2 separate regions of the Homo sapiens genome follow, and region 1 is linked to region 2. Evidence: promoter capture Hi-C in human tissues and cell types (Jung and others, 2019). All regions are on one chromosome and are shown on one strand. The core of a region is centred on a gene start or on the middle of the fragment in contact, and the rest is flanking DNA. Distances in the headings are between cores, read along the strand shown. Region 1 holds the start of LINC02677 (long intergenic non-protein coding RNA 2677). Region 2 holds the start of NET1 (neuroepithelial cell transforming 1).

Region 1 (5,572 bases), core at 2,124-4,623, 210 kb before region 2:
TCTCACAGAGAGTCATTGTTGCTTGACAGGGGAATGAACCCTGCTATTTTTCGGGTAGCAGAAGCTCATGTTTCATGGCACGGCCAGTTTCTGATACCTGCTTGGCCATTACCTTGGCTGGGTGACGTGAGGCAAGTCACCTTTCCTCTCAGATTCTCTCTTTGTGTGTTGTTGGCCCTGTCATTTCATTTTTTATTTTTGTTTTTGAGACAGTCTCATTTTGTCACCTAGGCTGGAATGCAGTGGCATGATCTCAGCTCACTGCAACCTTCGCCTCTTGGGTTCAAGCACTTCTCGTGCCTCAGCCTCCCAAGTAGCTGGCACTACAGGTACACACCACCATGCCTGGCTAATTTTTGTATACTTTGGAGAGACGGGGTTTCGCCATGTTGTCCAGGCTGGTCTTGAACTCCTGAGATCAAGTAATCCTCCTGCCTCAGCCTCCCAGAGTGCTGGGGTTACAGGCGTGAGCCACCGCACCCAGCCAGCCCTGTCCTTTCAATGGACCCTAGCTTGTCTGGGAGCATTCTTTGTGGGGTGAGAGGGGAGTCCATGTAAACTTTGTTTTCTACCTCCATCCCCCACACTGGCTGAGGAAGTTCTGGCTGGGGGCTGTCTCAGAGGAAGGGGGCTGCCTACAGGGGGCCAGGTGATTCCATCACCCGGAACCTCGAACCTTCCACTGTCCTGCTGCTGAGGCCTGGAGGGACAGTTGAGTCTGGGGAGAAAAAAAGCCAGGAGAACTGTGCCTGAAGTAGAAAGTCCACTAATTTGTCCCACAACCATAACCCTGCACCCCCGGCTCCCACGCGGCTTCGTCCGGACCCGGCAATGAACCGCTTCCCCAGGTGCTTGTTATTTAAACTGTCTCCACCATCCTGTGACTTCTCTTAAATTTAACCATCTTGGTGTCTTGCCATCCGGCCCCGAACAGGGGTGTGGAGGAGTTAGCTGGGTGCTGACGGATGAACGCAGAGTTCTGGGTCCTGCTCCGGGTTCGTTTTGTAGAAATGTATCGAGGGAATGAATCATTTTCATCAATGGGTGTTTTCCCTCCTATCTTTTCATTTCTTTTTGTTTTAGGACATCTTAGTATCTTGGAATTCTGGGAAGGAGAATGTAAACATTTTTCAGAACCAGCATTTTCCCGTCTTCTGTTTGGTCTGGGGCGTGTCTTGGCCTCTCCTGGGATGTGGTGGCTGTGGAAGGCTGGTGGGGGTGCACCTTCCACAGCACCCCGAGACCCTGGGTAGCTCCCACGTGCCTGCTCTTGCTTTCAGCCCTAAGGGCCAGCTGGTGGGGCCGCCACTCAGCTCAGGGCTGGTGCAGGGCGCTCAGGGCATGTCTTTTGTCCTGATGGGCTCTGGAGGCCGCAACCTCAATTCTGCCTTTTGGTTTTCCCAAGTGAAGGAGAAACACCCAGCCCGGGGTGGGTGGGATGACGCTCGGCTCCGAGTGGAGGCTGGAACACAAAGTGAGTTTCTCCGGAGTGTGGGTTCCTCCTCTGCCATGTGGCAGCCTCCCCATTTCTTCCTCCTCCCCCTGTCCCACGCACTCATCAACCACCTAAGCCTAAACCACTTTCCCAGCGGCTCCCTCCTCCTTCCTCTGTGGATCCTGGGACTCTGTGGCCCATGAGATACCTCCAGCTTCCCTGACCTGGAGGCCAAGGTCACCTGCCCAGTAGCCTTAACTTTGGCAGGGCAGGTGTCCCGAGACCTCCCTCCCTGGGACCCCAGCCACCTCCCCCACAGCCTGCCCATTCTCCATCCCCCCTCCCTGTAAGCCAGGCTCCAAAGCCAGTCATAACAAGGCACAAGAAAGGAAAGCGGAGAAAAGGAAAAACGTGTATCTTGGCCTCAACACAAACCTAGAGACGATTCACTTCCAAACCACTGAAAACAAGGACGTGCCAGGGCTCTGATGCAAGGGTCTGATGCCGTGCGCTCACTCCTGGCCTTGCAGAAAGGGGTCTCTGTTGGGGGTGGGGGTGAGAATGGGGAGCGACAAGGGAGGAGACAGTCCCCCCACTCCGAAGCAGGGCTGAAAGTTGAGCCCCCATAGGGCTTCCCACATGGAGCAGGCACAGGGGAGGAAGTGGCTGTCTGGAGGGCAGACTGTCAGGCAGCCTTTGCCAGTCCTGGCCCCTCTTCCCCCTCCTCAGCCCTCCATGCAACCCCAGCCTCTCCCAGAGGGCCTGACTGTGGTTTTTCCTGTTAACTCCGCCTGTTCTTCTTCTGCGGCCTTTGAAGCTCAGCTCTTTCCTTCCATGCTGTAACCTCAAATCCCGGCCCCTCCGCTTCCTTCGGTGGGGGATTGTCCTTTCTTTCCAGGTCCCTGCATCCTTGTCCAGGAGCAGCCATCAGTGTGGAGCTGGGGCTTGGAGATCTTGCTCCCCGCTGCCTCTAGGGCTCAGGGGCATGGCTGCCGACCACACAGGGGCAGGTGGGTATGTGTGCTCCCTGCAGGAGGACAGGTCTGGCATGAGTCAGATGCCTGCTACTGTGGTCTGTGGGACTTGGAGGGGTGTCCCTGACACTGAGCAGCTCCTTTCTTCTCACACAGTTCTGGAAAAGCCCATGAGGGTGGGGCAATTGCTGCTTGGAGATTGTCTCTTACGAGGGAAGAGGAGGAAGGATTCATGCATTCCTTCACTCACTCACTCATTTACTCCTTGATCATTTCAGCACTGAGTGGGCACCTGCACTGTTCCGGTCTCTTTCCATAGATTGAGAGGTGGGCTCTTCCAGATTGACAGATGGGCTTGACATAGTCTCAGGCTCTGTGCACGGGGCTCCTGGGGCAGCTCAGAGCTGCAGTGCAATCAGGTTATACCCCATAAGGAGAAGCTGCCTGGGACCTTGACCCCTGGCCAGCAGAACAGCTGCTGCAGCTGTCACTGATTACCGAGCCTGCGTGGGCCTCGGGGTCGAGTGTCATTTGTCACTCCGGAGAGGACATACTGATGCCTCTCACAGCTTGTGGAGGAAACGTGCAGGCCCGTGGGGTTTCATAGGCTAGCGAGGGCCCTGCAGGCATGACCCAGGCCAGGAGCGGCTTTCTCAGTCTGTCCGTGAGGCCCTGGTCCAGGGAGCCTTCCAGGGCCCGGGCATGTGGCCACCCACTTTCTCAACCTCCTTCCTGAACAAGACACACTTTTTAAGGCTCAGTCTGGAGCTGACCTTCTCCCTGTGATACTTGGTGATGAGAAGTCTTTCCACCTCCCGAGCCTTGCCCTTTTTGGGGGCATGAGATCCTGGGATGTTATTAACCCTCTGAGGCTCGGTTCCTCATCAGCAGCTTGGGAATCATTGTAGTTCCTACCTCCAAAATTCTTAAAAGGCCTGTTGTTATCATTCAACTCTCCAGACAGTTTAAAAGAAAAGTGCTGGAGAAACAGATCATGATAACAGCACATTTTATTGTAGTCTTCTGACGAGCCATGTAGTGAGGTACACCCACTACTTTCTAGGTGTAGAGAGTAGAGAAATCCGCTCAATCCTGAGTTTGATAATGAGGAAAGAGGCCCGGAGAAATTAAGAAATGCATATAAGGGCACACACTGTTAAACAGTAGAGCTGGGATTGCCACCTAGATGTTGGATGATGGAACCCACGCTTAACCACTACCCTGTCCCACCTCCCAGCGAGGGGAAGAGAAACAGCCACAGAGCCTCTGCCTTCTTTTAAAGCACATGGCTTCACCTTCAGAGTGGAATGCTGAGCCCTGCCTGGGCTTGCCCTGCGGCGTTTGGGCGAGGAGCTGAGGTCCTTGCAAAGAGTGGTGTGGTTGGTGCATGGTTGCGTGTGCACTGCCCAGATGCAGAGTGTGGACTTTGCTCAGAAGCACAGCATCTGTGAAGCTTTCGGAAATTATCCCTCTGGCTCCAGCCCTTTCTAGAGATCTCCACGCACATCTCTGCATGAAGGTTTCAGAGTCACTGGATTTCCCAGGGCCTTCTCTTTGCTAGGAATGTCTGAGACGCGCTCTGCAAGATGAGTTGGCAGCATCTCTGTGCCTCTGGTTTTGCCAGGCTCCACCAACATCCCGCTAAGAACTCTTCACCCTCAAGGTAAAACCCAAACTCCTTAGCACAGTATTCAAGGGCCTGCTTCCCTGCCTACCTGCCCGCCTGCCTACCTGCTTACTTGCTCACCTGCCTACCTGCTTACTTGCTCACCTGCTTACCCGCTTGCCCGCCATACTTACCTGTCCAGCTCATCTTCCCCGGCCCTCCTGCTGCTGTTCTGCGTGGGAACTGCCGCTCTCCCATCTTCTCCAGCCAGCCCTCCTCTCTACTGCCGCATCCGCGGCCCTTCACTGTCCTCACGACTGATGCATCCACCCTGGTCCACCTGCCCCAGATGCTCCTTAGGGCAGCAGCCCCGCTGAAGCATCTTCACATTCCCATAGAAAACTGTGGGATGCCAGACAGGGACAAGCACCTCCAAGATGAGGGGATCAGAACTAGAAATGAAAAGGGATTTGTCGTTCATCACCAAGAAAACCAACACGAGAGGCGGGATTGGAACCCTGTCCCATGGCATCTGGGGTCGATTTGTTTAGGGGGCCACGGGGCTTTTTCTCCCATGTCCACCTTAGTGCACTGAGGGGAACCCCAGTGAAGGCCAATGAGGGAAACCACACATCACTGAGGGCCGACGGAGGCCCCCAAAGCTCAGATCGCTGTGCTCGCCAGTAGGTAAGCATCCCCTGTGAAGAAAGCCTACCTTCTCTCTCCCTCCCCAGATCCCCATATCCAGACAGAGTGAGGAAATGCATAAAAACAAAACACAAAACACACTCCTTCCCCAGGTCCCCAGACACCCTTAACACAGCTATCTGCAGGATTGAATGATTGCTGGGACCACACAATTTACACTTGGCTCTCGTGGTCCGGAGGGGAGGACTGCGCCAGCATGAGAAGACCAGAGAGCAAGTAAATGGAAATTTGGCGAGATCCTGTGGCTGCTGTTGGTGGCTGCAGCCAGACAGGAAAACTGAGATGGTGTGAGCAGAAAGGGCTGGAAGGAGTTGGCTTTTTCCAAGAAATTACAGCGGAATCTTCTTCCAAGAGGCTGGGGGCCTCTGCAGACATGATCTCATTACTTACCCCCCAAATCCCCCAGCTTCCCTACGGACCAAGGACCAGGGGTCTCTGCCCAGTCCTAGCTCCAAGGAAACTCACACTTGGCAGATTTTCCTAATCGGAGCTGGCCTTGAAGTTTGCTCACTGATAATCACCAGAAAGTCACCCCAACAATGGGTGATGCCAGAGTGTCCTCAAGCTTCAAGGGTCCGTAAAAACACTTGACTCCCCCAGGACAAAAATGACTGGGGGAAACATGCAGTTCTTCAAAGAGAACGGTTTCATTCTGTACCAAAGGGTGTCTTAATTTGCCTTGGCAAGAGAGGCAGCACCGTGTTGTGGGTGGACAGCACTCGGGGGGTGGACGGCACTCGGGGGGTGGGCGGCACTCGGGGGGGTGGGCGGCACTCGGGGGGGTGGGCGGCACTCGGGGGGTGGGCGGCACTCGGGGGGGTGGGCGGCACTCGGGGGGTGGGCGGCACT
Region 2 (5,501 bases), core at 1,545-4,044:
ACAGATTAGGTTTTAGGGCAGAAGGGGTAGGAGAGGAACAATAGCTAAAGGGTACAAATGCTCTTTTTGAGGTGATGAAAATGTTCTAAGTAGTACAATTTAAGTGGGTAAATTGTACTGTACGTATTTGTCTTTCAAATTAGTTTATACTGAGTTTTGCCTGCAGAACGTTTTTCAATAGTCACATAATCATACACACAAATCTTTTTCCTTATGATTTCTGAATCTGATACAGTGCTTAGTTGCTTCTTGCCTCACAATTAATACTATCTTGTAATATTTTACGTATTCTTGTAGATGATCTTACATCTTTTCTGGAAAAGGAATATGTTATTTAATTCTCCATTTTCTCTCCATGGTTCTTCTAACTGTGTCTCACTCTCCTCATGCTGCCTGTGTTACTACGCTTTTCTCACAATGTATCATTTCCTACCTCACACAAAAAATAGAGGCCTGGTGGGAAAGTCCTCAAATTCCTGCTCACAACACACCCCATTCTTCAAAACTATATATCATCCATAGCTTCTTGTTAGGCTAAATCCTCTACCTTGAATTTGGATTCTGTCCTTTTCTGCCTTCTTGGATCCTTGTTCAACCATTTTTCTCCTCTACTGTCTGTTCAACCTCTCCCTCTATTTGTTAACTCAGCACAGCACATCAAGGGAATTTATTCTTTCTTAAGAGTCTATCCCACAAAATTGTGTTATTTCTCTCTATTCTTTCTTGTCTTCCTGTTGCAGTGAAACTTCTCTTCACCAATCCCATTGCCAGCTATCAGATTCGAACAATCATTTTTTCATTTAGACTACTGCAGACTGATTTCCTACCAATCCATCAGCTAAACTTGGAAATTTTAATTTGGTATACACAGCTGGGTCCACAAATCTCCTGAAATGTTTATGTATATGTGCACATTTTTGGGGAATAGTTTTCATAAAATATGAAGAGTGAGATGACTCCAAAATGTTGCTTATTTTTCTCATGGAAGGCAAACTGATCTTTTAAAATGCAAATATGTCATGCCATTGGCTCATTTAAAGTCTTTCAGTATTTCCCCATTACCATGAAGATAAAACCCAAACTCTGTCAAGGCATACAAGGTCTCTTCATGATGTGGCGCTTACCTCTTTAGCATCATCTCTCATGACTACCTCCTCCTTCTCCCCATATTGGTTTCCTCTCCTCTATACAAATATCACTGTTAATATAGTAATAAAATAGAATATATACCCAGAACTCATCAGACTCATTTGCTTCAGGGCCTTTCTACATGCTTCTCTGCCTGAAATCATCCATTTACATCTGCTCTCTAAACTGGTCCTTAAAGACTCAGGGATTACAATAGGAAATCATTTCCTATTCTCTCCAGTCAGGATTAAGTGTTCCTTTTAATCTACGGCATTCTGTGTATATCACTATAATAACTTTTATCACATATTATAATAATTATTAACCTACTTATCTTTCTTCCCCACTAGATTATAAATCTTAAATAGTAACAAGAGTATTTTTCCATTTCCATATTCCTAGTGTTGGCACTCACATTATTTTCTGAACAAATCGCACATTCTCTTCTCAACCTGTTGCAAAACACTCTAAGTTCGATATTGTAACCATTCTTGGAAACCATCTAAGATCAATACTCTCTTCTCATTACCAAATTTAATTTTCATTCCTCATCTAGCTTAATCCTCATCTTATTTTACTTAATCCTCATTTTATTTGACCTATCAATAACATCTGACATAGCTCGCCACGTCCTCTTCTTGAAATTCTTTCTTCATTTGGCCTCCTGGATACTGTTCTCACTTGGTTCCCTTCCTCCTAATTCACTAGCTATCCCCTGAGCTTCGCTTTGTGAAATTTCACTGAGCCAAACACGAGTCATACACTCTCATTTCAATGTATACTTCCACAAAAAGTAAAAAGAAAAAACACGAAAATGGTTGTGATGAACTCTCTAATAGGCATCTCATAACATATCCCGAAGTCAACTTATCCCTTAGTCTTTTCTTTCTCAGGACATGGAAGCCCATTCTCGTGGTGCTCACCATGACAGTTTCGGTCTGAGCAAAGGCATTTGGGAACGCCAGCCTACAGCCAGTTGGGTGTGCAGAACAAAACCATTGTGGTTTTTCCTAAGTCTCCCCTGAGAAACAGTCAGGAGGCGAGGAGACTCAATAAACCCGCCCCTTTGCCACAGGCAGGGAAAATCGCAGTTTGGGGTCTCAGGACCGACCTCGGTCCAAGGCCAGGCACACTGTCACTCCAGCCTGTGCCACCCTCACTTCCAGCGGCCCCCGTCCCCCCCCCCAACCCCGCGGTCACCTCCCCCACCCCCCACTCACCTCCCAGCGGCCCTCGCCTCCCCCTGGCCCTCACCAACACCCCCACTCGCCGCCCCCCACATCCAACTCCCGGCCAGCCCTCCCCTCCCCCCGGCCCTTGCCTCTCCAACACTCACCTCCCGTTCGGCCCTCCGCTCCCCTACACTCACCTCCCGTTCGGCCCTCCCCTCCCCCACACTCACCTCCCGTCCAGCTCCGACCCGGAGGTGTCGGCCGAAGGCCCCGTCGCTCCCTCCGTGCTGAGCCCAGAGGCCCGGCGGCTTCGCCTCCGCGGTCGAGGCTGCTTCTGAGCCGCCAGCTCGGGCTCCATGGCACGGAGGAGGGGGTGGGGCGGTGGCCGGGTGCCCGGGAGACCGGCAGGGACGGGCACGATGCCCGCCAGCCTCTGCCAGGCAGAAAGCGCCTGTCAGCGGACTGCAGCCGCCACCGCCGTCATCCGGGGATTTGAAAATGGCGGCTGAGCAGCGATCAGCCAATCAGTGAGCGCGCAGCGGTTCCTAGGAGACGTGGAGTCCCGCCCCTCCACCGCTCCCGGGATCTACTTGCCTAGGAAAGAACCTAGGAAAATTTGCCCTTAACTCCTGAGCGCATCCCTGAGTCCCTAAGGCCCGGTACCTCCTTCATTGTTCATTAGGACTTTCACTACAGGCCAAGGCAAATGGACTGGAAGCATTTTAATTCACCAGATCTTTCTTAGCATTTGAGGAGAAGAGAGGTCCAAACTAATGACCTGTAAACAAGGCATGTTTATTGGCCATATTCACACTGAATTATTGTGCACGTGGCCAATATGAGATATATTTCCAATTACCAAAGGTTATGCAAGTGTGTTCCCGGGACTGTCTCTAGGGAACCAGCAAAATCTAATTATGAGCCCTTATGTCTTCCAATAAGCATGACACAGTCTCTCCCTAGCAAAACAGAATGAAGTGACTTCATCCTTTGCTTGTAAAAGTCAGCAAAAGACATAATATAAAATAAAAGACCGCTTCAAGTAAAAAAAAAATTGTTAAACAAATTACACTTTCTTTGATTTTAAATATTGCTTTATATGTGTCAAAGTCTTTAAAAATAGCTTCTCCTGACCGGGCGCTGTGGCTCACGCCTGTAATCCCAGCACTTTGGGAGGCTGAGGCAGGCGGATCACGAGATCAGGAGATCAAGACCATCCTGGCCAACATGGTGAAACCCTGTCGCTACTAAAATACAAAACTTAGCTGGGCAGAGTGGCGCATGCCTGTAATCCCAGCTACTCAGGAGGCTGAGGCAGGAGAATTAGTTGAACCAGAGAGTCGGAGCTTGAATTGAGCCAAGACCGTGCCACTGCACTCCAGCCCAGTGACAGAGCGAGACTCCGTCTCCAAAAAAAAAAAAACAAAAAAACACTTCTCTTTTGCCAGTATATTTCCACTTATGGAAATTTATCCTAAAAAATAAAATTATATAAACATGAAGCTATTAATGACATTGTTTATAATAGAAACATTTAAAACAACCTAAATAAACAATGATTTATAGCTCATCCACTGAGAAGAATATTTTCAGCCAACAAAAATGAAGTGTGAAGTATGTAATAGTATACTGGTAATTTGAAATAAAAACATGAAGTATAGAGGTATATTCAGTATATTCAAAGTTATGAATTACAAGAGATTATACAAAGAAAAAAGATAATGTATTAAAATGTATTAAATGTATTAAAAAGTCAATGTATTAAAATGTCTCTAGGTAGACTTTAGGTATTCAAAATTTTTATTTTTATTTTTTGCATTTAATTTTTTTAAAAATAAGGACATATTGAATTTGCAGTACCTTTATAACATGAGGGAAAAATGTTTTTGTTTTAAAAAGAGTAAGAAATTAGGGAGTAACATTGAGATGTGAAGCCAGCTAGACTTCCTGGGTAGAGTGGGGACTTGGAGAACTTTTCTGTCTGGCAAGAGGATTGTAAAACACACCAATCAGTGCTCTGTAGCTAGCAAGAGGATTGTAAAATGCACCAATCAGTGCTCTGTAAAAAGCACCAATCAGCAGGACCCTAAAAGTAGCCAATCACAGGGAGGATTGAAAAAAGGGCACTCTGATAGGACAAAAATGGAACATGGGAGGGCACATATAAGGGAATAAAACCTGGCCACCCCAGCCAGCAGGGCAACCCACTGGGGTCCCCTTCCACACTGTGGAAGCTTTAGTTCTTTCACTCTTTACAATAAATCTTGCTGCTGCTCACTCTTTAGGTCTGTGCCACCTTTAAGAGCTGTAACACTCACCATGAAGGTCCATGGCTTCATTCTTGAAGTCAGCGAGACCATGAACCCACCGGAAGGAACCAGCTCTGAACATAAGTTGACCTTGGTCAAGAACCACTTCTGTTCTACCTTCCCCATCCCTCCCCAAAAATTAAAGAAGAAAGTACTGCTTTGTAGCAGTTAGAGTGTAAGAATACAGAAATGTTCTTAATATTTGGGGAGTTGGTCTCCACCAAGACAGAGCTTCAGAGGATGCAGATGTTTAGATTATGAACAAAAATAAACCTGTAAGAGCAATTCTTCAAGTCAGGTCCCAAGTAGGTCACAACTACTCTGTGTCCAGAAAACTCACACCCCTTTGGGATTTTCACAATTTACCCGAATTGACCAATCAGGGCTCACCTGATGTAACCGATCAGAACTCATCTGCTTTATCCAATCAGGGTTCAGCTGTATTACCCAATCTGAACTGAGCAAGTCTGAATCTTTCCTTTGCATAAACACATCTGATTGGAAACCTGGACAAGAACTTTTTCTATAGAAGCCAAACCCTCCCCTTTATTCTCTGGAATCACCTTTCTTTTACTCCGAAGGCTGTGTCTCCCTGGTTTGCAAACTGTTCACTAGAATAAAGTCTCCTTTCTCCAAACTTCCTTTTCAGAGAACTTTTGTTCACAAGATAGGACCATGTGAATCGCTGACGCTTGGTCTTTTTACCCACAGAAACAGCCGTTTCATATTAATAGTTTCAACATACTTCGGTGAGATCCTCAGAATTCAGGGTCTGTCCTCAGCTTTGCAGGTCCTGAAACTGGTTTTGATTGTGTCATCAGAGGTGGTCAGTCCTTTGGTAACTTGTAATAACTACTCACAAAATGATAGATACTGCAGGATGTCAATGTGG

What was found. Contacts are between HindIII fragments. The study calls those that stand out against the background at their distance.
Region 1: a contact is called between a fragment that was not itself captured here and the fragment with the promoter of NET1 in region 2, in 4 of the 25 tissues and cell types used here (dorsolateral prefrontal cortex, mesenchymal stem cells, neural progenitor cells and 1 more).

The regions. Positions count from the first base shown.
Region 1 is chr10:5,616,431-5,622,002 of GRCh38, reverse strand. It overlaps LINC02677 (long intergenic non-protein coding RNA 2677), which reads left to right and starts at 3,795. Exons shown (of 2, transcript NR_184032.1): 1 at 3,795-4,072; 2 at 4,603-5,385. The HindIII fragment of the contact is 7,810 bases long and covers 1-5,572 here.
Region 2 is chr10:5,409,850-5,415,350 of GRCh38, reverse strand. It overlaps NET1 (neuroepithelial cell transforming 1), which reads right to left and starts at 2,794. Exons shown (of 12, transcript NM_001047160.3): 1 at 2,531-2,794. The coding sequence starts at 2,658. RefSeq lists a silencer at 2,453-2,882. The HindIII fragment of the contact is 9,279 bases long and covers 1-5,501 here.